Regions from separate parts of the Homo sapiens genome. Here all the other regions are linked to region 3. Evidence: promoter capture Hi-C in 16 types of primary human blood cells and fetal thymus (Javierre and others, 2016). All regions are on one chromosome and are shown on one strand. The core of a region is centred on a gene start or on the middle of the fragment in contact, and the rest is flanking DNA. Distances in the headings are between cores, read along the strand shown. Region 1 overlaps KCNQ1 (potassium voltage-gated channel subfamily Q member 1). Region 2 overlaps KCNQ1 (potassium voltage-gated channel subfamily Q member 1). Region 3 holds the start of SLC67A1 (solute carrier family 67 member 1). Region 4 overlaps KCNQ1 (potassium voltage-gated channel subfamily Q member 1). Region 5 holds the start of KCNQ1 (potassium voltage-gated channel subfamily Q member 1). Region 6 overlaps KCNQ1 (potassium voltage-gated channel subfamily Q member 1).

Region 1 (3,281 bases), core at 640-3,139, 400 kb after region 3:
TTTTTTTTTTTTTTTTTTTTTTTTTTTTTGATGTATCTTTGTCTGGTTTTGGTAACAGGGTAATACGGGCCTTGTAGATGAGTTTGGAGGTATTCCCTCCTCCTCTATTTTTCATAATAGTTTCAGAAGGATTAGTATTAGTTCTTGAAATCTTTGGCAGAATTTAGCAGTGAGGCCATCAAGTCTCAGGGTTTTCTTTGTTGGAAGATTTTTAAATTACAGGTTCAATCTCATTACTGCTTAGTGGTCTGTTCAGGTTTGCATTTCTTCCTGGTTCAATCTTGGTAGGTTGCACATGTCTAGGAATGTATCCATTTCTTCCAGATTTTCCAATTTATTGGCATAGAGTTGCTCATAGCAGCCACTAATTATCCTTTGAATTTCTGTGGTATCAGTTGTAATGTCTCCTTTTTTTGTCTCTGACTTTAGTTACTTGGATCTTCCCTCTTCTTTTCTTAGTCTGGCTAAAGGTTTGTCAATTTTATCTTTTAAAAAAAAAACCAACTTTTTATTTTGTTGATCTTTTGTCTTGTTTTCTTCACTTCAATTTCATGTATTTCTGCTCTAAGCTTTATTATTTCTTCTACTAATTTTAGGTTGACTTACTCTTGCTTTTCTTGTTCTTTAAGATCATTAGGTTGTTTACTTGAAGTTTTTCTCTTTATTGATGCAGGTGCTTTTAACTAGAAACTTCCCTCTTAATACTGCTTTTGCTGTATCCCACAGGATTTTTATAAGTTCTGGGGTACATGTGCAGAACATGCAGTTTTGTTACATAGGCATACACGTGCCATGGTGGTTTGCTGCACCCATCAACCCGTCATCTACATTAGGTATTTCTCCTAATTCCCTCCCTCCCCTTGCCCCCACCCCCCAACAGACCCCGGTGTGTGATGTTCCCCTCCCTGTGTCCATGTGTTCTCCTTGTTCAACTCCCGCTTATGAGTGAGAACATGTGGTGTTTGGTTTTCTGTTCTTGTGTTAGTTTGCTGAGAATGATGGTTTCCAGCTTCATCCGTGTCCCTGAAAAGAACATAAACTCATCTTTTTTTATGGCTGCATAGTACTTCACAGTGTATATGTGCCACATTTTCTTTATCCAGCCTATCATTGATGGGCATTTGGGTTGGTTCCAAGTCTTTGCTATTGTGAATAGTGGTGCAATAAACATATGTGTGCATGTGTCTTTATAATACAATGATTTATAATCCTTTGGGTATATACCCAGTAATGGGATCACTGGGTCAAATGGTATTTGGGTTCTAGATCCTTGAGGAATTGCCACACTGTCTTCCACAATGGTTGAACTAATTTACACTCCCACCAACAGTGTAAAAGCGTTCCTATTTCTCCACATCCTCTCCAGCATCTGTTGTTTCCTGATTTTTTAATGATCGCCATTCTAACTGGTGTGAGATGGTATCTCATTGTGGTTTTGATTTGCATTTCTCTAATGACCAGTGATGATGAGCACATTTTCATATGTTTTTTGGCTGCATAAATGTCTTTTTTTTGAGAAGTGTCTGTTCATATCTTCAAGGAGAACTACAAACCACTGCTCAAGGAAGTAAAAAAGACACAAACAAATCCCACAGGTTTTGGTAAGTTGTGTTTCCATTGTAATTTATTTCAATAAAATTTTCAATTTCCTTCTTAATTTCTTCCTTGACCCTCTGGTCATTCAGGAGCATATTGTTTAATTACTATGTGTATGTCTGTATAGTTTCCAAAATGTCTCATTATTAACTTCTAGTTTTATTCTGTACTGGTCAGAGAAGATGCTTGATAGTATTTCAATTTTTTAGAATGTTTCAAGACTTGTTTTGTGATCTAACATATGGTCTATCCTTGAGAATGAGCTATGTGCTGAGGAGAATGTGTATTCTTCTCTTGGAATTGCTGGATGAAATGTCCTGTAAATATCTATTAGGTATATTTGGTCTACAGTGCAGATTAAGTTAGATGTTTCTTTGAAATTGTTATATCGTCTTGCTGAATTGATCCCTTTATCATGATGTAATGACCTTCTTTGTCTCTTCTTATAGTTATTATCTTGAACTCTACTTTGCCTAATACAAGTATAGCTACTCCTGATCTTTTCTGGTTTCTATTGGCACGGAATATCTTTTTTCAAGCCCTTAATTTTCAGTCTATGTGTATTTTTATAGGTTGAAATGTGTTTCTTGTAAGCAACAGATAATTGGGTCTTTTTTTGTGGGGGCAGGGGTCCATTCAACCACTCTGTCTTTTGATTGGCAAGGTTAGCCCATTTACATTTAATATTATTATTGATACGTAAGGACTCACTCTTGCCATTTTATTATTTGTTTTCTGGTGAAGATATTCTCTTCCTTTGTTACTTCCCTTCTGTCTTCCTTTTAGTGAAGGTGATTTTCTCTAGTGGCATGCTTTAATTTCTTGCTTTTTATTTGTGTGTCTGCCATATGTTTTAGATCTGAGGTTACCATGAGGCTTGAAAATATCTTACAACTCATTATTTTAAACTGATGATGACTTAACACTAATTGCATAAACAAGCAAAAAAACAAAATCAAAAATTCTACACTTTACATCTGGCAAGATGGCAGAATAGGAAGAGCTCCAGTCTGTAGCTGTCAGTGAGATCAACACTGGGTGATTTCTGCATTTCTGACTGAGGTACCAAGTTCATCTCATTGGGACTGATTAGGCAGTGGGTGCAGCCCACGGAGGGCACACAGAAGCAGGTGGGGCATCGCCTCACCTGGGAAGTGCAAGGAGCCGGGAGACCTCCCTCCCCCAGCCGAGGGAACTGCAAACATGCAGTTTGCATGCAGTTGCTGCACCCATCAACCCGTCATCTGTGATACCCGGGACTGTGATACCCGGCCTGGATACTATGCTTTTCCCATGGGTTTTGCAATCTGCAGATCAGGAGACTCCTTCATGTGCCTATACCACCAGGGCCCTGGGTTTCAAGCACAAAACTGAGTTGCTGTTTGGACAGACATTGAACTAGCTGCAGGAGTTTTTTCTGTACCCCAGTGGTGCCTGGAACCCCAGCAAGACAGAATCATTTACTCCCCTGGAAAGGGGGCTGAGGCCAGGAAGCCAAGTGGTCTCACTCAGTGGGTCCCACTCCCATGGAGCCCAGCAAGCTAAGAACCACTGGCTTCAAATTCTCACTGCCAGCACAGCAGTCTGAAGTTGACCTGGGATGCTCAAGCTTGGTGGCGGGAGGGGCATTTGGTATTACTGAGGCTTTAGTAGGCGGTTTTCCCCTGATAGTGCTAAGGAGGCTG
Region 2 (3,181 bases), core at 16-2,515, 380 kb after region 3:
TTCATAGAGCAAGCATCAGAGGGTTCAAAATGTTCCCCGTGGCTGGTGAATGAGATCGAGCAATGTTCAAAGACCCCTACTGGGGACGGGACCTCGCCAGGCTGATAAGCAGACAATGGGTTTGTGAAGCGAACCTAAAGCCGAAGGCAGGATAGGGCCTTGAATGTGTAACTTCAAGAGATTAAATATTGACGCTTAAACCCCAAACCACTTCTAGGGGCTTAAAAAAAAAAGTCATCCTGGGAGACTCCAAATGCCTCCAAATCCCATGTGCCCCAGGAAGGAAACACTGGGCGCTGGAGAGGACAGGCTTCCCCTGCTCACTCACTGGTCACCAGCAGGTCTCCCTCCATCCCTGATGTGGCTGCCGGCTCCAGGGCTGCTGAGCTCAGAGCCCTGGGATGTGGACGCCCAGGGGCAGAGGTCTCACAGCCTGCCAGGGCTGTTCCCCAGGGCTGAATCTGCACCTCAGAAAAAGCTACCAGCTGGTCACCCCCCTCACCAGTGGCTGTCACCCCCCTCACCAGTGGCTGTCAGCAGGCAGCCTCAGCAGGGTTTGGAGGTCGCCAAGGTCCCCACAGGTTCACCTGCTTCCTGGCTCTGCATGGATGGAGCCTGGGCCAGGCATCTCCCGACCCCTCCCAAAGGGGTGAGCCCTGGCCCACACCGAGGGCCCCACGCTGGGCTGGACACTAGGCACAGGTTCCCCGCTCTGAACCCCATGTGGAAGGTGTCACATCATGGAAGTCCTGGTGAGGAGACAGAAGCCCTGGTGAGGCACGTCTGGTCCCAGGCTGCCCCCCAGAAGCCCCCTGGATTGGGGTTCAGGAGGCACTACCAATCGATGGGGACACTGAGGCTCAGACACAGCATGGGACGTGCCCAGACTGGCCGACTCCAGGGGCCCCAGCGCCACCACTTGGTGCCATGGTCCTGAGGCAGGAATGCCACATCAGGCCATACGTCATCCTGGGGGGTGGGGGCGACAGGGCCCTTTTCAGCCTTCCAGCCTCTGCGGGCTCCCGCGTCCTGGGTGGGTGGCGGCATCACTCCCGTGCTGTGCAGCATGTGGCCGGATCCTCCTTTGTTGAATCTGTCCTGTCTTTTAGGAGGACACGTGTCACTGGACTTGGGCCCCCTGGATAATGCAATCACGCCTCTCGGGACCCTCAGCCTCAGCTGCAAAGGGGTGTTTTCTATGTCAGGTCACATTTGCAGCTTCCAGGGATGGAAACCAATGTTGTGGGGGGGGGCCAACACCTGCTGTACTATGTAAGTATTTAATACATTACTTATGATCACTATTGGTAGATTTTGAATTCTTAAACAACAGAATTAGGTATTGGTCAAAAACATATATTAGTTGTTGTTGTTTTTTGGTTTTTTGTTTTGTTTTGTTTTGTTTTTGAGACAGAGTCTTGTTCTGTCACCCAGGCTGGAGGACAGTGGTATGATCCTGGCTCACTGCAGCCTCGATTTCCTGGGCTCAAGCGATCCTCCCAACTCAGTCTCCCAAAGTGCTGGGATTACAGGCGTAAGCCACCATGCCCGGCCTCATGTCTTAATTTTTAAAACATAATTAAAAATGTACTCAAAGCTCAGAGTTTCCTTTTCATCCTCTCACCTCCAGATCCTTAATGGAATTGCATCTGAAAAAATTCTTTTAAAAAGAGGGTCACGTCCACGCCCACTGGTGTCAGCACAGGGACGCCTCTCTCACCATTCAGCCCACAGGGCATCACCCGAACCCTGTCATGTTGGAGAGAAGGGAGCTGGGGGTGGTGATTCCCGGCACAGGCGGGACATGGCTGGCCCATCTGCAGCAGGCAGCTGCCACGTCGGGAGTAGGTCCATGAGGCTCCCTAGCACCCCAGCCCTTCAGGGACCGCCACTTCTCACCAGAACGGCAACAGCTGCCCCCCAACCATTGCCCCTCAGGCCCCCACACAGCACCCTGTCTGCCATTGTCCACACTGCCCAGCTGGTTGGCAGGGCCTTGGAAGCCCCTCCCCTGGCAGCCACAACAGGGCACAAACCACAGAAGGAGCGTGGATGTGATCCCACACCCGCTTCACAGACCCACAGCCTGGTCCTCCCCGTCCAGCTCCGGGTGAATGGACGCCTCCCCACCAGACTGGGCCTCCTTGGCCCAGGGCTCCCGTGGCCACCCCATGCCTCACGCTGTCTTATACTCTTTACCTGTGGCTTGTTCCGCGGCAGCTGAGTCTCATTTCTTTAAAAAGTTCTTGAAAGCCATGGGATCCCAGCCCAAGGGACACAACAATGGGTGACTTGGTGTGGCCGGTGGGTAAGATTTCTGCCCTCATTGTCTCCCGAAGCCCCAAGTGTGCTGTCCCCGTTAGACAGAGCCGCCAGCCCGCCTATCCAGGAGCCATCTGGAGATTAAACCTGTGTCCCACAGCAGGACCAAGGCTGTCCCCAGCCTCTTGGGGTTTCAGCTGACACTTTTTCCAACACAGATCTGGACTGGGAACCCCAAGAAACAGGTCCCTTCCTGCCAGCTTTCGGCTGGGTCCACACAGAACTCCTGTGCCTGCAGCACCTCCCCAGAGGCTGGTCCCCCTGCCGGGGCCACCAGGCCTGCACCCCAACTGCAGCCCACTCCCCTGGTCCCCCCGCCTCTGTCTCTCCTGTCCCAAGGCAGCGTCTACCCTCCCATGTTACAAGACCCCCCACATGAAGCCTGGACCCCAAACCCTCCTTCTGCGGAGGCCCTGGCCTGGGCTTCCCTGCCAGGCTCTCAGGAGGCCTCCGGCTCTGGCTTGCACCAGTTCATGGACCGCCAGGCAGCCACTGCCACCACTGCCTCCCCGACCAGAGCAGGGGCTCCCCAGGCAGGGGCCCACCAGCTGCATTCCCTCCCTCCGAAGGCCCAGTGCCAGGCGTGGGATGCACGTTTGTGAAGTGTTTGCTGAATGACTGATGGTGTGAATGAATGTTAGGGTAAACCCTCAAGCTCGGTGAATGAAGTCTCAGTGCCGCCTCCTCCATGCAGGCCTCCGGGTGAATCTGGAAGTGAGTTAGGCTCCTTAGACTCTGTTCTTTTCCTTCCTATCCCACCGCACACCACAGGCTCAGCCTAGCTCGCAAGTGGCCTTTGAGCAGGACGTGGTACTGAGGCAGCGTTCCGCCACCCCTCACCCCCAGGCTGCATGCCAAC
Region 3 (3,454 bases), core at 291-2,790:
CTCCAGAGGGCAAAGGCTGCCGGGTGAGAGGCAGGAGGAACAGCGCTAGGAAGGTTTGAGGAGGTGCTGCCCCCAGGAGGGAAGTGGGGTGGCTCCCCATGGCTTCTCCCGGGGCTGGCACTGAAGCTGGAGCACAGGATGTGCTGACGGGGGTCCAGAGGCAGAGTCCTTAACTTACTCAGCTTAAGCGTGGCATGAGTCCCAACTGGGAGGGGCCCTGGCAGCATGAAACCCCCACCCCCACTCTCTGCGACGGCCCAGATGGAGGGCAGGAGGAACAGCGGTTCAGCCCTGGCTGGGGCTGCAGGGGCTGGGGTGTGTTACTCACTGGCACGATGGAGAACTGCATGAAGAGGCAGGTAAGTTCTGTGGCGGCCAGCACGTAGGTAAGCAAGATGACCGAGGACCGGCCTAGAGCGCTCATCCTGCCGGGGGACCGGCCCTGGTCCCTGGGAGCCCGAGCTCCCTGCATCCTGGACAGGCGCAGCAGGGAGACCCAGGAGAGATCCAAGCAGGAGGCTGGCGGAGCAGGGGGCAAAAGTCCAGTTGATCCGGGCAGGGGTGCTGAGTCACTGGGTCCCAGGCAGCACCCGCCTGGCCTTGCCTGCAAGAGAGGACAGCACTGCAGGACCCCCTCCCCAGTGGAGCTCTCCTGCTACCTGGACCTTAGAGGACACATCAGGGGGTCCCCCTCCTCCACTTTTGACAGCTCTGGTCTCCAGGCACACAGCCTCCCGGGGAGGGGAGACAGGGACAAGCTGCTCCCCCCGACCCCTGCAGGTGGGCCAGGCTCAGTGCCTGGTTGCCTGACACAGGAATGTGCCATGCCCCACTTTTAGAGGGAGGCAGAGGCTCGGAGTGGTGGCTGAGTCCACCTCAAATCATCAGCGCCTTCTGTGGCCAGAGGGCTGATGTGGGTCCCTGTGCCTGGAGGCCCTCCGTAGGCCCACAGTGGCCCTGTCCCCAACACAGTGCAGCTCTCAGGGAAGGTCTACCTTCCCCTGTGGCCAGCAGCCAGAGCTCCAAGGGGCTTCTGGAATGGTCTTGCGTAGGGGAGACATAGCTCAGCCTTCCAGGCTCCCCAGTAGCTCTGCCTTACCTCCCACAGCGGAGTGCTGTCTGTCCCCACCCTTCCCCGCCCGGCCTCCAACTGGTGGGAACTGGATTTTGCGGCTGCAGAGGACTTCCCCAAATTTTGCCACATTAACAGCTGACTGCACATCTGAGCCCCGAGGTACCGAACCCAGGCTGGTGGGGTAGGGCGGGGAGACCCCTGAGGGTCCGGGAGCTGCGCCTGGCGCCCTCCCCCATCCCGGGATGCAGGGAGGCTGGGGGGAGCAGGGCAGCCGCAGCAGGCACGTCAGGGGCACCTCATTGGGCAGAGGTGCGACGCTGCGCCGGAGTTCGGGGTTCGGGGCTCAGAGGCCGCCCTCTCCGGAGTGTGCTCGAGTACCTGCCTTTGCAGGGGCGGGCTTGGGCACGGGTGCCGGTGGGGTGAGCGCTCCAGGGTGACCTAGACACCGGTCCTTCCGGGATGAGCCCCGGCCCCGCCCTTTCGGGAGATGACTTGCAACAGGGACCGCCCCTCTGGGTCTGAGTTCCAGCCCTCGCGCTTTGCAATCGCCAGTTCCGGGAGCGCCCGTGCCACGGTTTCTGCGCTCTCACTGGCCGAGCCCGCCCCTCCCCTCGAAGGACCCGCCCCTGCCCCGCCCACCAGCGGGCTCGCCCCGTGCCCGGCTTCGCCCGCCCCAGCCCCCTCCAGCTTGAATCCTGCCCGGTGCCCGGGCTGCTGGAGGTGGACACTCTGACCCTCAGGCAGCACCGGTGTCCACTTTGGGCCTGAGGAGGGGCAGTGTGGGCAGGGGATGGGACCGGGAGGTGGAGGGAAGGAGAGAATGGAGGGGAGGCAGGGGCGGGGAGAGAAAAGCGGAGGAATGGTGGTGAGGGGTTAGGGGAAGAAGTCAGGGGAGGTTGTAGAGGGTGTGGTGTAGCCTGGCCCTGCCAAAGGTCTGCACAGAGCCCCAGAAGAGTGACCAGGAGACAGCTCTGGGCCCCTCCTCACTTCCCTCCCCAGACCCGGAGGCTGCTAGGAGCAGTTGAGAGCCCACTTTTCCCCATTTCACCCTGCCTGCCACTTCCCCACCCTTGCAGGGGCCACCAGAGATGCCAGCACACAGGTAAACAAGCCTCATGCCGCCCTCCGCAGCAGGAGCCGCTGGAGCACACACACCCCACGCTGCGCACACTTGGCCCAAGCCCTGCCCTTGGCCTGGGCACCATTCTCCGTGCCCCTGACTGTCACTAAGTAGGGAGATGCTCATTCAGGACTCCTGCCCCACCTCCTCCCCAGGCAAGGGCTGGGCACAGGCTCAAATGTCAAAACCAGTGTCCCCCTGCCATGTGTCAATCATCGCTCCACAGAGCAGAAAACTGCAGGGGTGAGACAGGGTGGGACGGACATCGCAGAGGCGAGCGAGAGCCGGCCAAAGTCCTGGTGGGCAGGGGGGCCAGAGCCAGGTGGCCCAAGGCCGGCTGGCTAAGCCATTCCAAGTCACCGTGGGAGTGGTTCAGCAGCTACCCTTCGTTCAGCAGCTCAGATATGTTGGGCATCAGAAAACAATACCCCAAAATGAAGGCCTCAGAAGCAGCTTCGGAAGAAAAAGTGTTTCTCTGACCTTCTCTTGCTCTCCTGTCTCTCAGTGCCATTTTCCCCGAAGCTGGCCTTAGAAACTGGAATCCATTTTCCCCAGGGCAGGTCATAGAAATCAGAACCCCGCCTTTCCACACAGCCAGACATCAAACCTAAAAATATTGCTCTAACTTTCCCTCCACCTTTGTGTTTAGAAGCTGGCCATAAATTATCTGACCTCTCTTGTTTGACTGTAGGGCATAAGACCCCATTCCAGGAGGGTCCTGCTCCATGCCCAGAAGGAAGGAATGCTGCTCAGAAAGTTCAAGAAATCTAGACCAACAGCCCTCGCTGCGCTTCCCCTTGCGGTCCAGGAGCATTAGTGCAGGTCCCTTGGTTCATCTGTGTTCCCGCATGGATGTCCATACTTTGTTGAGCCTAAGCATCAGAAATGGCAATTTCCCCCATATCTTTTTTTTTTTTTTTTTTTTTTTTTGAGACGGAGTCTTGCTCTGTCACCCAGGCTGAAGTGCAGTGGCGCGATCTCGGCTCGCTGCAAGCTCCGCCTCCCGGGTTCACGCCATTCTCCTGCCTCAGCCTCCCGAGTAGCTGGGACTACAGGCGCCCGCCACAGCCCCCGCTAATTTTTTTGTATTTTTAGTAGAGACGGAGTTTCACCGTGTTAGCCAGGATGGTCTCGATCTCCTGACCTCGTGATCCGCCCCCCCTCGGCCTCCCAAAGTGCTGGGATTACAGGCGTGAGCCACCGCGCCCAGCCTGTTTCCCCCATATCTTTGGGTCTTTGTTCTGAAAACTCCCATTCAC
Region 4 (3,136 bases), core at 431-2,930, 350 kb after region 3:
GACCAGGGGCTGAGCACCCTTCTTTTGACTTGGGGAGAGTGCTGAGAAGGCCGCAGGGTTGAACCCTGTTTACTTTAGCAGAGATTGAGGAGCTGCAACCCACACCGGCCCTTCAGGGGCCCGCGCAGTGTTGGGACAGGAAGGCCTGCGGTTATTAAAGGCTGCCCTGTGGACGTGTGTGTGTGCACGTGTGTCAGCGCGTGTGTGCACACGGGCCTGTCTAGTCTGTTTTCTGACTGCTGAGTACCTCACTCTGATTCTGCAAATCTAGAGATTTTAATAACAGGCGGTGAATTTAAACAGTTGTTTTCCCCCCCTTTCAGGAATGTTTTAAGGGATTGAGAGGAAATTGTGCACGGATTTTGCTGTTTTAAGAGCTAATATGTGAACAACTTCAGAAGGATGTATGTTGTTTTAGGGCTGAAGTTTACACAGTAAACGGGAGAGTCAAAAGCAGACTTGTCGTGAAATTGTAGGGCCTGTCTTCTTAAATTTCATTCCTCTGAGAAGGGACTGCCTCCCTGGGGAGCAAAGCTGGAAGGAAACAGAGAAAGTCTGATCTTTGTCCCCCGTGCCCCTTACGGTGTCCTGTTGCAGAATCCCTGGGGAGGCAGTGCCCAGTGGGATGGCCAGCAGCAGAGACCACCCAGCCCAGGCCCCCTCTCAGGGCACTGAGGAGGGTCCCCCTGCAGATGGCTGCATTCAGAGGTCTGCAAACCCCACAGCCCCTAAGCTGCTCAGGAATGACATGTCAGCACAACATGGTCTTGTTTCCAAATTTGGGCTGGGGCTTCTGCTCCTTGGGGACAAATACTTTCAAAGACATGAACAATCAAAACCTCATCAAGAAGAAATAGACAACCTGCATAGCCCTGTATCTGCTGACTTTCCAATGGCAAACTTCTCCACAAAGAAAACTCCAGGCCCAGATACCTCCACATGTTCTAGCTATCAAATGTTTAAGGGAGAAATAATTGCAATTCTACACAAACTCTTCCTAAAAATTGAAGAGCAGGAAATATTTCCCAACTCATTCTCTGATGCCAGCGGCATCTGATGCCAAAACCAGACACAACAGCCAACACATGGCAGGTGACGCCCTCGTGAGCGTGGGCGTGGAAGTTCTACACACAACCGAAGTCAGTCACATCCAAAAAGGTGTTTTAAAACGCATCATGACAGCTGGGCATGGTGGCTCACGCTTGTAATCCCAGCACTTTGGAAGGTCAAGGCGGGCAGATCACCTGAGGTCAGGAGTTCAAGACCACCCTGGCCAACATGGTGAAACCCTATCTCTACCTAAAAATACAAAAATTAGCTGGGTGTGGTGGCGGGCGCCTGTAATCCCAGCTACTCGGGAGGCTGAGGCAGGAGAATCACTTGAGCCTGGGAGGCAGAGGCTGCAGTGAGCCGAGATCACGCCATTGCGCTCCAGCTTGGGCAAAAAGACCAAGACTCCATCTCAAAAAAATAAAAAATTTAAAAAAGTACAAATACATATAAAATAAATAAATAAATAAATAAAATAAAATAAAATAAAAATTCATCATGACCAAGTGGGCTTTGTGTAAGGGAAGCAAGTTTGCTTTGCTATTTGAAAGTCAATCAGTGCGATTCCCCACACTAGCAAATTAAGAAAGAATTTGATTGAGATTGTTGCAAATGATATGATTATCTCAATAGAGGCAGAAGGAGCACTTGTCAAAAAATCCAACAGCCATTCTTGACGCACTCTCTATTCCCAGCAAACCAGGAAGAGGAGGAACTTCTTGGCCTGATAAGTGGCTTCTACTAAAACCCTACAGCTCCCACCACACCTAATGGTGAAAGATTACCTCACTTCACCTTAGGAGTAAGATAAGGATAGCAGCCCTCTCCCCACTGGCAGACACTGTCAGGTGCATTCAAGTAAAAACAAGAAATAAATAGTATATGGACTGAAAAGGCAAAAATAAGACTGACTTAATTGTGGACAACACAATCATCTCCATAGAAAATCCTAAAGAATCTACAAAAAAACAAAAAAAAAAAAAACAAAAAAAACCCCAAAAACAGATGAACAAGAAACCTTCTCAAACTAATAAGTAACATGAGCAAAGTCACAGGACGCAAGGTTAATATACGAACAAATCAATTGTATTTCTATATCCTAGCAACAAATAATCCAAAAGTGAAACTGAGAAAACAATATCATTTCAGTAGCTTCAAAAACATAAAATACTTAGGAACAAATCTAGCAAGTTTCACACCACTAAAAATTACACAATCCTGATGAGTGGTGTTGAAAAATATCTAAGACACCGGGGAGCAAGACCGTGTTCGTGGATCAGAAAACTCGGTATTACTAAGACGTGCATGAGGCACTGGGGAGCGAGACAGTGTTCGTGGATCGGAAAACTCGGTATTACTAAGACGTGCATGAGGCACTGGGGAGCGAGACCGTGTTCGTGGATCGGAAAACTCGGTATTACTAAGACGTGCATGAGGCACTGGGGAGAGAGACCGTGTTCGTGGATCAGAAAACTCGGTATTACTAAGACGTGTATGAGATCCAAATTTATCTACATATCCAATGCAATGCCAATCAAAATTCTAGCCAATTTTTTTTTTGGTAGAATTGACGAGCTGATTCTAAGATATTCATGAGAATGTGAAGGAGCTGGCAGAACAGCTCACTCTTGAAAATGAACAAAATTGGAGGATTAACAGGACCTGATTTCAAGGCTTAGCGTAAAAGTCACAGTAATCAAGACAGTGCTTTCCTGGCAGAACAGATGACAAAGTCCAGAAATCGAACCCACACACACGGCCAACTGATTTTCATCAAAGGTGCCAAAGTAATTCAATGGGAAAAAAGTCTCTGGGACAACTGGATAACCACATGCAGAAAGATTTAACCTCCATCCATACCTGTCACCATATATAAAATTAAACTCGAAATGAATCACAGATCTAAACAAGAAATGTGAAACTATAAAATTTCTACAGAAAACAGGAGAAAAAACTTTGTAATCTTGGATTAGGCGAATATTTCTTAGACAGAACACAAAGAACATGAACCCTAAAGAAAAAAAAAAAGAAGAACCCTGATGAATTGAACTTCATCAAAATTAAAAACTGCTGCTCTTTTGAAAGA
Region 5 (2,979 bases), core at 397-2,896, 460 kb after region 3:
GCAAGGAAGGCAGTAGCCCTGCGACCCCTACCCCACCCCCTCACCTGAGACGATGCTTGAAGCCATTTGGGGCCTGGCTCCTGCTGTCACCCGCCCTGAGGCCCTGGTGGCAGCTGCCAGCAGGCATGGACAGGCCTCTGGATGCCCTCCAGCCAGTTCTCTACTGAGCCTGCCCGAGGCAGAGGAGATGCTTCCACCTGAGGACGCTCAGGGAGACCACCCTTCAGCCCTCAGGTGAGCCCCACAGCCATCAGCCATGGGATGTCTGGGTAGAGGCTCCCAGGCCAGAGGCTGGCACCACACCAAAAGGCCGCTGGCTGGGCAGCCAGGAAGTAGGGCCACTGGGGCAGCGGGGGAAGGCCCCAGGCAGGCATGGAGGAGAGCAGCCTGGACCTTCCCGGAGGTGACTTCCCAGGCCTGTCCCTGAGAAATCCAGTGCCCAGCCCTGCTCAGGCACGCTGTACCGGGAATTGGAACCACCTGGTAACAGGGGGGCCAGGTGCCTCTGCTACCAGCGCTGCTTTCTCCGGGAGCACAGCTGCCTCTTAGTGAGAGCTGCAAACGTGCCTCTCCGCTCTCTGCATCAAGCCAGGTTTTCATGAGCTTGGTTCAATTAGTTAATGTGGGGCCCGTGGGGACGGCCCGTGGCATGCTGAGCCCTCAGGGAGCACCGCCACCGTCACCTTCCTATCCTGGACAGCCCCCTGCCCCAGAGTCCACCTGGGCCTCAGGGGGTCTGAGATGCGGCACCGGACATCAGGGGCCTTCTCTCTTGGGGGCTCCTGAGCCTCGAGTCTCAGCCGACCTTGAGGAGTTATCTTACTGCACCCAAGGGTGCGCTCCCCAGCACGCTTCTCTTCCCAGAAGGATTCACACCTGGACTACCCTCCCGGAGGTGTGGAGCCAAATTCTGGGCTCCAGGTGGTCCCCTCCCCAGCCGGCTCCCTCCCCACGCCGGGCCTGCGAGAAGATGCGCACCCCCAGACACAGCAGCGCCTCTGAACTTCAAGGGAGAGTGCAGAGTTTGTGTTTCTGCGTTTCCCCACTTCCTTCCCTCCTCTGCTCCGGGGTCGCAGCTCCGACGGGGCAGGTGGCGCTGGGACAGAGCTCCCCCACACCAGCTCTCAGGAAGCACCTTCGTGCCGGCCGTCGCCGGTGGCGATACTCACACGGCGAAGTGGTAAACGAAGCATTTCCAGCCGGTGGGACGCTCGAGGAAGTTGTAGACGCGGCCCTGGACGTGGGTGCGCGCCAACACCGGGCGGCGCGTGCTGTAGATGGAGACGCGCGGGTCTAGGCTCACCGGCGGCCGCGGGCCAAGGTCGGAGGCAACTGGGGGCGCGGCGGGCGCGGCCGGGGACGCAGGGGGCGCGGGACCTGGGGCGCCGGGCGCGATGGGCGCGTAGAGCGCGCCGCCCGCCGGGCCGCCCTCCGCCAGCTCCAGCGAGAAGGGGCACTTCTTGGCCAGGCCCGCGCTGCCCCGCCGGGCGCCTGGCAGGCGGCCCCAACCCCAGCGCTTCCTCTCGGCCCTGGGCGGGGAGGAGGCCGCGGCCATAACGAGGAGGGCCTGCCGGGGGGCCGGCCCGAGCGGCGGCACCGGGAGCTGCAGCGAAGGCGAGCGCCCGGGCGCAGTGCGGGCAGCCACTGCTGCCAGCCCCGCCGCGGGGGGCCGCTGCCGGCCCAGCCCGGGCGCTCGGGGCGGGGCCGGAGGGGGCAGTGGCCGAGGGCCGGTCCCATGGGACGGCGTGCCCCGCCCCCGCCTGCACGCCCCGCCCCCGCCGGTCCGGCGCGCACAGGGCGTCCCTGCCCGCGCCCACCGGCTTGGCCCGCCCTCTCCCCACGGACCGGCCTGGCCCTGCCTCCGCCTCACCCCCTGGCTTGGCCTGTCCGCGCCCCCGCCCCCGCCTGCGCCCCCGCCCCCACCCCCACCCCCGCCCGAGCCCACCTGCTTAGCCCCGCTCGTGTCATCTATCCCGCTTGGCCCCGCCCCCTCCTCGCCCACCTGTTTGGCCCCGTTCCAGTGTGCATTTACCCCGCCTGGCCCCGCCCCCTCCCCGCCCACCTGCTTGGCCCCGCCCTCACCCACCTGCTTGGCCCCGCCCCGTCTGCATCTCCCCTGCTTGCTCCTGCCCTGCCCTCACCCACCTGCTTGGCCCCCACTTCTGATGCCCGCCTGCTCTGCCTGGCCCGGAGGAGGACCCCAGCTGCGCCAGGGAGGAAGGGGTAAGGCCTGGCCGATACCACGACCGAGAACGGCACAGCGGGGGCAGGAGGGGCGGGGTAGGGTGCCGGCATCTACTTTCCCTCCCTCTGAGCCACTCCGGAGTTGGGGTTGGGGGGAGGAAAGGGATGTCCTGGGTGAGGGTGTGCTGGCCCCGCGATCACTGTGAGCGCCCCCGGGTGCCCAGGCGCGCGAGCTGCGGGCGGCGAATACGCTCGGGTCGCTTCCCACCAGGGCCCTTGGACCGGGAGGGTGAGATGGGACCACCACTGTCAGGTACCTCCCAGTGGGAGCTGTGTGGGTGGGGAGCCGGCAGGGCTGCTGGGGGGTGGGGGCGGCACAGCCGGGGTCTGGACCTGGTTTGACTGCCGGGCATAGCAGGCGGGGCTGCCTGGGCAGTTAAAGGGAGAGGCGCTTGCGCCACCCTAGTAACTTGGAGAATGGGCGCCTTGTCCTCCCCACCGTCGAGACCGCGCTGCCGCTGCGCCCCGTGGATTCCCCTGGGTGGGGGTGGGTTGGTCACATCGGAAGATTTTCACAGGTCTCTGCACTGCCTCCCGCCCGCTACTGGCATTTGGGTCTCAGCACGTCTCAGGCTTGGGGGGGGGGTGGGGGGCAGCCAACAGAAGAGACCGGCTTTTTTCAGGATACTGCACACAGCCCTGAGGCAGGGACTAAAGGTGGAGCTCAGCGGTGACTCTCCGCCCCGCCAGGAGACCCATAACTCATGTGACACTTCCAGGTCGTCCCTGAGCACC
Region 6 (3,398 bases), core at 46-2,545, 420 kb after region 3:
GCAAACAGCCGATGGCCGTGGTCCCCAACCTTTTTGGGACCAGTGACTGGTTTCATGGAAAACAGTTTTTCCACAGACCAGTGGTGTGGGTGGTTCTGGGATGATTCAAGCACATTACTTGCATTGGGCACTTTATTTCTACTATTATTACATTGTAATATAGAATTAAATAATTATACAACTCACCATAATGTAGAATCAGTGAGAGCCCTGAGCTTGTTTTCCTGCAACTAGACAGTCCCATCTGGGGGTGATGGGAGACAGTGACAGATCATCAGGCATTAGATTCTTATAAAGAGGAGGCAACCTAGATCCCTCACATGCATAGTTTGCAACAGGGTACACACCCCTGTGAGAATCTAATGCCGCCACTGATCTGATAGGAGGCAGAGCTCACGCGGTAATGCGAGTGATGGGGAGTGACTGTAAATACAGATGAAGCTTCACTTGCTCACCTGCCACTCACCTCCTGCTGTGCAGCCTGGTTCCTAACAGGCCATGGACTGGTAGTGCTTCATGGCCTGGGGGTTGGGGACGCCTGGCTGATGGCCACACAGCCTCGGGGAAGCAGCCTAGCTGTAGACGTGCAACTCACTCCTGACTGCACTGTGTGTGTACACGCCCTTAACACACACACAAAGACCAAGTAGAAACATGTGCATGCACGCGCGCACACACACACGCCGAGAAAAAGACTAGCAGGAAACTAAAAGCTGGCATCTCTGGCTTTTGGTACGATGAGTCATTTTACTTTTCTTCTTTAAAAATTTCTGCACGTTCTCTGATTAACATTTCTGAACTTTACAATCAGAAAAACTGATCTACTAAAAGCATTTTCTTATGTCTGGTGAGGAGTAACTGGAATTGTCATCTGCTTTGGATGAGAACTAGTGACATCACACATCGCATCAGTTCACTGCAGAAGAGACCACCACCCGTTCTCGTGGCTATGAGTGAAATCCAACATGATGTGGTAATTCTCTTCTAACTTTCGATTTATATGATTTCATTTCAAACTTATAGAGAAGTTGCAAGAATAGCAGAAGGAACTCCCAAACGTGCTCTGCTTAGACTTGCCTGCGGTTTCTACACTGCCCCCGTCCTGCTCCATCCTGTCCCTCTCCAGACTTCCCTCTTTTGGTTGAATCTTTCTGAGCCCTTGGAGACACCATGCCTGTTTTCTGCTAAACGCCTCCTCATGGATTTCTTAGGAATAAGGGTGTTCTCTTCTGTAACCATGTGGTACTGTTGTCAAAATCGGGAAACAACACTGACATGCACACTACAGGTCTCTATTGCACACTACAGTTCTCTACCTCACACTCTCACATCATCAGCTGCCCAGACACTGGCTATTGCAGCCATCTCTTCCCAGACAGGATTCAACTCTGATATGGTTTGGCTGTGTCCCCACCCAAATCTCATCTTGAACTGTAGCTCCCATAATTCCCATGTGTTGTGGGAGGGACCCAGTGGGAGATAATTGAACCATGGGGGCAGTTTCTCCCATATTGTTCTCGTGGTAGTGAATTAAGTCTCATGAGATCTGATGGTTTTATAAGGGGGAACCCCTTGCACTCTGTTTTCATTCTCTCTTTGCCAGCTGCCACGTAAGATGTGCCTTTGCTCTTTCTTCATCTTCCGCCATGATTGTGAGACCTCCCCAGCCATGTGGAACTGTGAGTCAATTAAACCTCTTCCCTTTATAAATTACCCAGTCTCAGGTATGTCTTTATCAGCAGCATGAAAATGGACTAATACAGTAAATTGGTACTGGGAGTGGGGTGCGGCTGTAAAGATACCCAAAAATGTGGAAGCAACTTTGGAACTGGGTAAGAGGCAGAGGTTGGACAGTTTGGAGGGCTCAGAAGATGACAAGAAAATGTGGGAGAGTCTGGAACTTCCTAGAAACTTGTTGAAGGGCTTGACCAAAATTCTGATAATGATATGGACAATGAAATCCAGGCTGAGGTGGTCTCAGATGGAGATGAGAAACTTTTTGGGAAGTGGATTAAAGATGACTCTTGCTATGTTTTAGCAAAGAGACTGGCAGTATTTTACCACTGCCCTAGAGATTTGTGGAACTTTGAACTTGAGGGAGATGATTTAGGGTATTTGGTGGAAGAAATTTCTAAGCTGCAAAGCTTTCAAGAGGTGACTTGGGTGTTGTTAAAAGCATTCAGTTTTGAAAGGGAAACAGAGATAAAAGTTCAGAAAATTTGCAGTCTGAAAATGTGATAGAAAATAAAAACCCATTTTCTGAGGAGAAAGTCAAGCAGCCTGCAGAAATTTGCATAAGTAACAAGAAGCCAAATGTTAATCACTAAGACAATGGGGAAAATGTCTCCAGGGCATGTCAGAGACCTTAGGAGCAGCCCCTCCCATCCCAGGCCCAGAGGCCTAGGAGGCAAAAATGGTTTCCTGGACTGGGCCCAGGGCCTCCATGCTGTGTGCAGCCTAGGGACTTGGTGCCCTGTGTCCCAGCCGCTCTAGCCATAGCTAAAAGGTGTCAAGGTACAGCTTGGGCTGTGGCTTCAGAGGGTGCAAGCCCCAACTCTTGGTAGCTTCCATGTGGTGTTGAGCCTGTGGGTGCACAGAAGTCAAGAATTGAGGTATGGAAAGCTCTGCCTAGATTTCAGAGATGTATGGAAATGCCTGGATGTCCAGGCAGAAGTTTGCTGCAGGGGTGGGGTCCTCATGGAGAACCTCTGCTAGGGCAGTGAGGAAGGGAAAAGTGGGGTTGGAGCCCCCATGCAAAGTCCCCACTGGGGCACTGCCTAGTGGAGCTGTGAGAAGAGGGCCACTGTCCTCCAGATCCCAGAATGATAGATCCATCAACAGCTTGCACCATGTGCCTGGAAAAGCTGCAGACACTCAATGCCAGCCTGTGAAAGCAGCCAGGAGGGAGGCTGTACCCTGCAAAGCCAGAGGGGCAGAGCTGCTCAAGACTATGGGAACCCACCTCTTGCATCAGCATGACCTAGATGTGAGACATGGAGTCAATGGAGATCATTTTGGAGCATTAAGATTTAACTGCCCCACTGGATTTCGAACTTGCATGGGGCCTTTAGCCCCTTCGTTTTGGCCAATTACTCCCATTTCAAATGGGTGTATTTATCCAAGGCCTGTACCCTAATTGTGTCTAGGAATTAACTAACTTGCTTTTGATTTTACAGGCTCATAGGTGGAAGGGACTTGCCTGGTCTCAGATGAGACTTTGGACTGCAGATTTTTGAGTTAATGCTGAAATGAGTTAAGACTTTGGGGCACCGTTGGGAAGGCATGATTGGTTTTGAAATGTGAGGACATGAGATTAGGGAGGGGCCGGGGTGGAATGATATGGTTTGGCTGTGTCCCCACCCAAATCTCATCGTGAATTGTAGCTCCCATAATTCCCA

Evidence for each region. Contacts are between HindIII fragments. The CHiCAGO score rates a contact against its expected background, and 5 or more counts as called.
Region 1: a contact is called between a fragment that was not itself captured here and the fragment with the promoter of SLC67A1 in region 3, in 1 of 17 cell types (naive CD4 T cells). The highest score is 5.1, in naive CD4 T cells.
Region 2: a contact is called between a fragment that was not itself captured here and the fragment with the promoter of SLC67A1 in region 3, in 17 of 17 cell types (monocytes, M1 macrophages, activated CD4 T cells and 14 more). The highest score is 16.0, in monocytes.
Region 4: a fragment that was not itself captured here is called in contact with the fragment with the promoter of SLC67A1 in region 3 in 16 of 17 cell types (non-activated CD4 T cells, naive B cells, naive CD4 T cells and 13 more); the score reaches 10.0 in non-activated CD4 T cells.
Region 5: the fragment with the promoter of KCNQ1 here is called in contact with the fragment with the promoter of SLC67A1 in region 3 in 15 of 17 cell types (M0 macrophages, activated CD4 T cells, erythroblasts and 12 more); the score reaches 15.8 in M0 macrophages.
Region 6: a fragment that was not itself captured here is called in contact with the fragment with the promoter of SLC67A1 in region 3 in 2 of 17 cell types (M0 macrophages and monocytes); the score reaches 5.5 in M0 macrophages.

The regions. Positions count from the first base shown.
Region 1 is chr11:2,498,467-2,501,747 of GRCh38, reverse strand. The region is part of intron 1 of KCNQ1 (potassium voltage-gated channel subfamily Q member 1); the gene reads right to left. Among named protein-coding and RNA genes, the nearest start is that of KCNQ1, 55 kb to the right of the region's middle. The HindIII fragment of the contact is 2,636 bases long and covers 572-3,207 here.
Region 2 is chr11:2,517,846-2,521,026 of GRCh38, reverse strand. The region is part of intron 1 of KCNQ1 (potassium voltage-gated channel subfamily Q member 1); the gene reads right to left. Among named protein-coding and RNA genes, the nearest start is that of KCNQ1, 74 kb to the right of the region's middle. RefSeq lists enhancers at 315-814, 815-1,316. The HindIII fragment of the contact is 5,693 bases long and covers 1-3,181 here.
Region 3 is chr11:2,900,364-2,903,817 of GRCh38, reverse strand. It overlaps SLC67A1 (solute carrier family 67 member 1), which reads right to left and starts at 1,540. Exons shown (of 11, transcript NM_002555.6): 1 at 1,454-1,540; 2 at 329-604. The coding sequence starts at 472. It overlaps SLC67A1-AS (SLC67A1 antisense RNA), which reads left to right and starts at 243. Exons shown (of 3, transcript NR_169305.1): 1 at 243-359; 2 at 1,109-1,234. RefSeq lists an enhancer at 1-353 and a silencer at 1,279-1,408. The HindIII fragment of the contact is 10,715 bases long and covers 1-3,454 here.
Region 4 is chr11:2,552,061-2,555,196 of GRCh38, reverse strand. The region is part of intron 2 of KCNQ1 (potassium voltage-gated channel subfamily Q member 1); the gene reads right to left. Among named protein-coding and RNA genes, the nearest start is that of KCNQ1, 110 kb to the right of the region's middle. The HindIII fragment of the contact is 3,473 bases long and covers 1-3,136 here.
Region 5 is chr11:2,443,675-2,446,653 of GRCh38, reverse strand. KCNQ1 (potassium voltage-gated channel subfamily Q member 1) reads right to left here and starts at 1,646. Exons shown (of 16, transcript NM_000218.3): 1 at 1,170-1,646. The coding sequence starts at 1,555. It overlaps TRPM5 (transient receptor potential cation channel subfamily M member 5), which reads left to right and starts at 2,140. Exons shown (of 29, transcript NM_014555.4): 1 at 2,140-2,223. RefSeq lists silencers at 1,657-1,726, 1,737-1,846. The HindIII fragment of the contact is 13,739 bases long and covers 1-2,979 here.
Region 6 is chr11:2,478,635-2,482,032 of GRCh38, reverse strand. All of the region lies in intron 1 of KCNQ1 (potassium voltage-gated channel subfamily Q member 1), which reads right to left. Among named protein-coding and RNA genes, the nearest start is that of KCNQ1, 35 kb to the right of the region's middle. The HindIII fragment of the contact is 1,703 bases long and covers 444-2,146 here.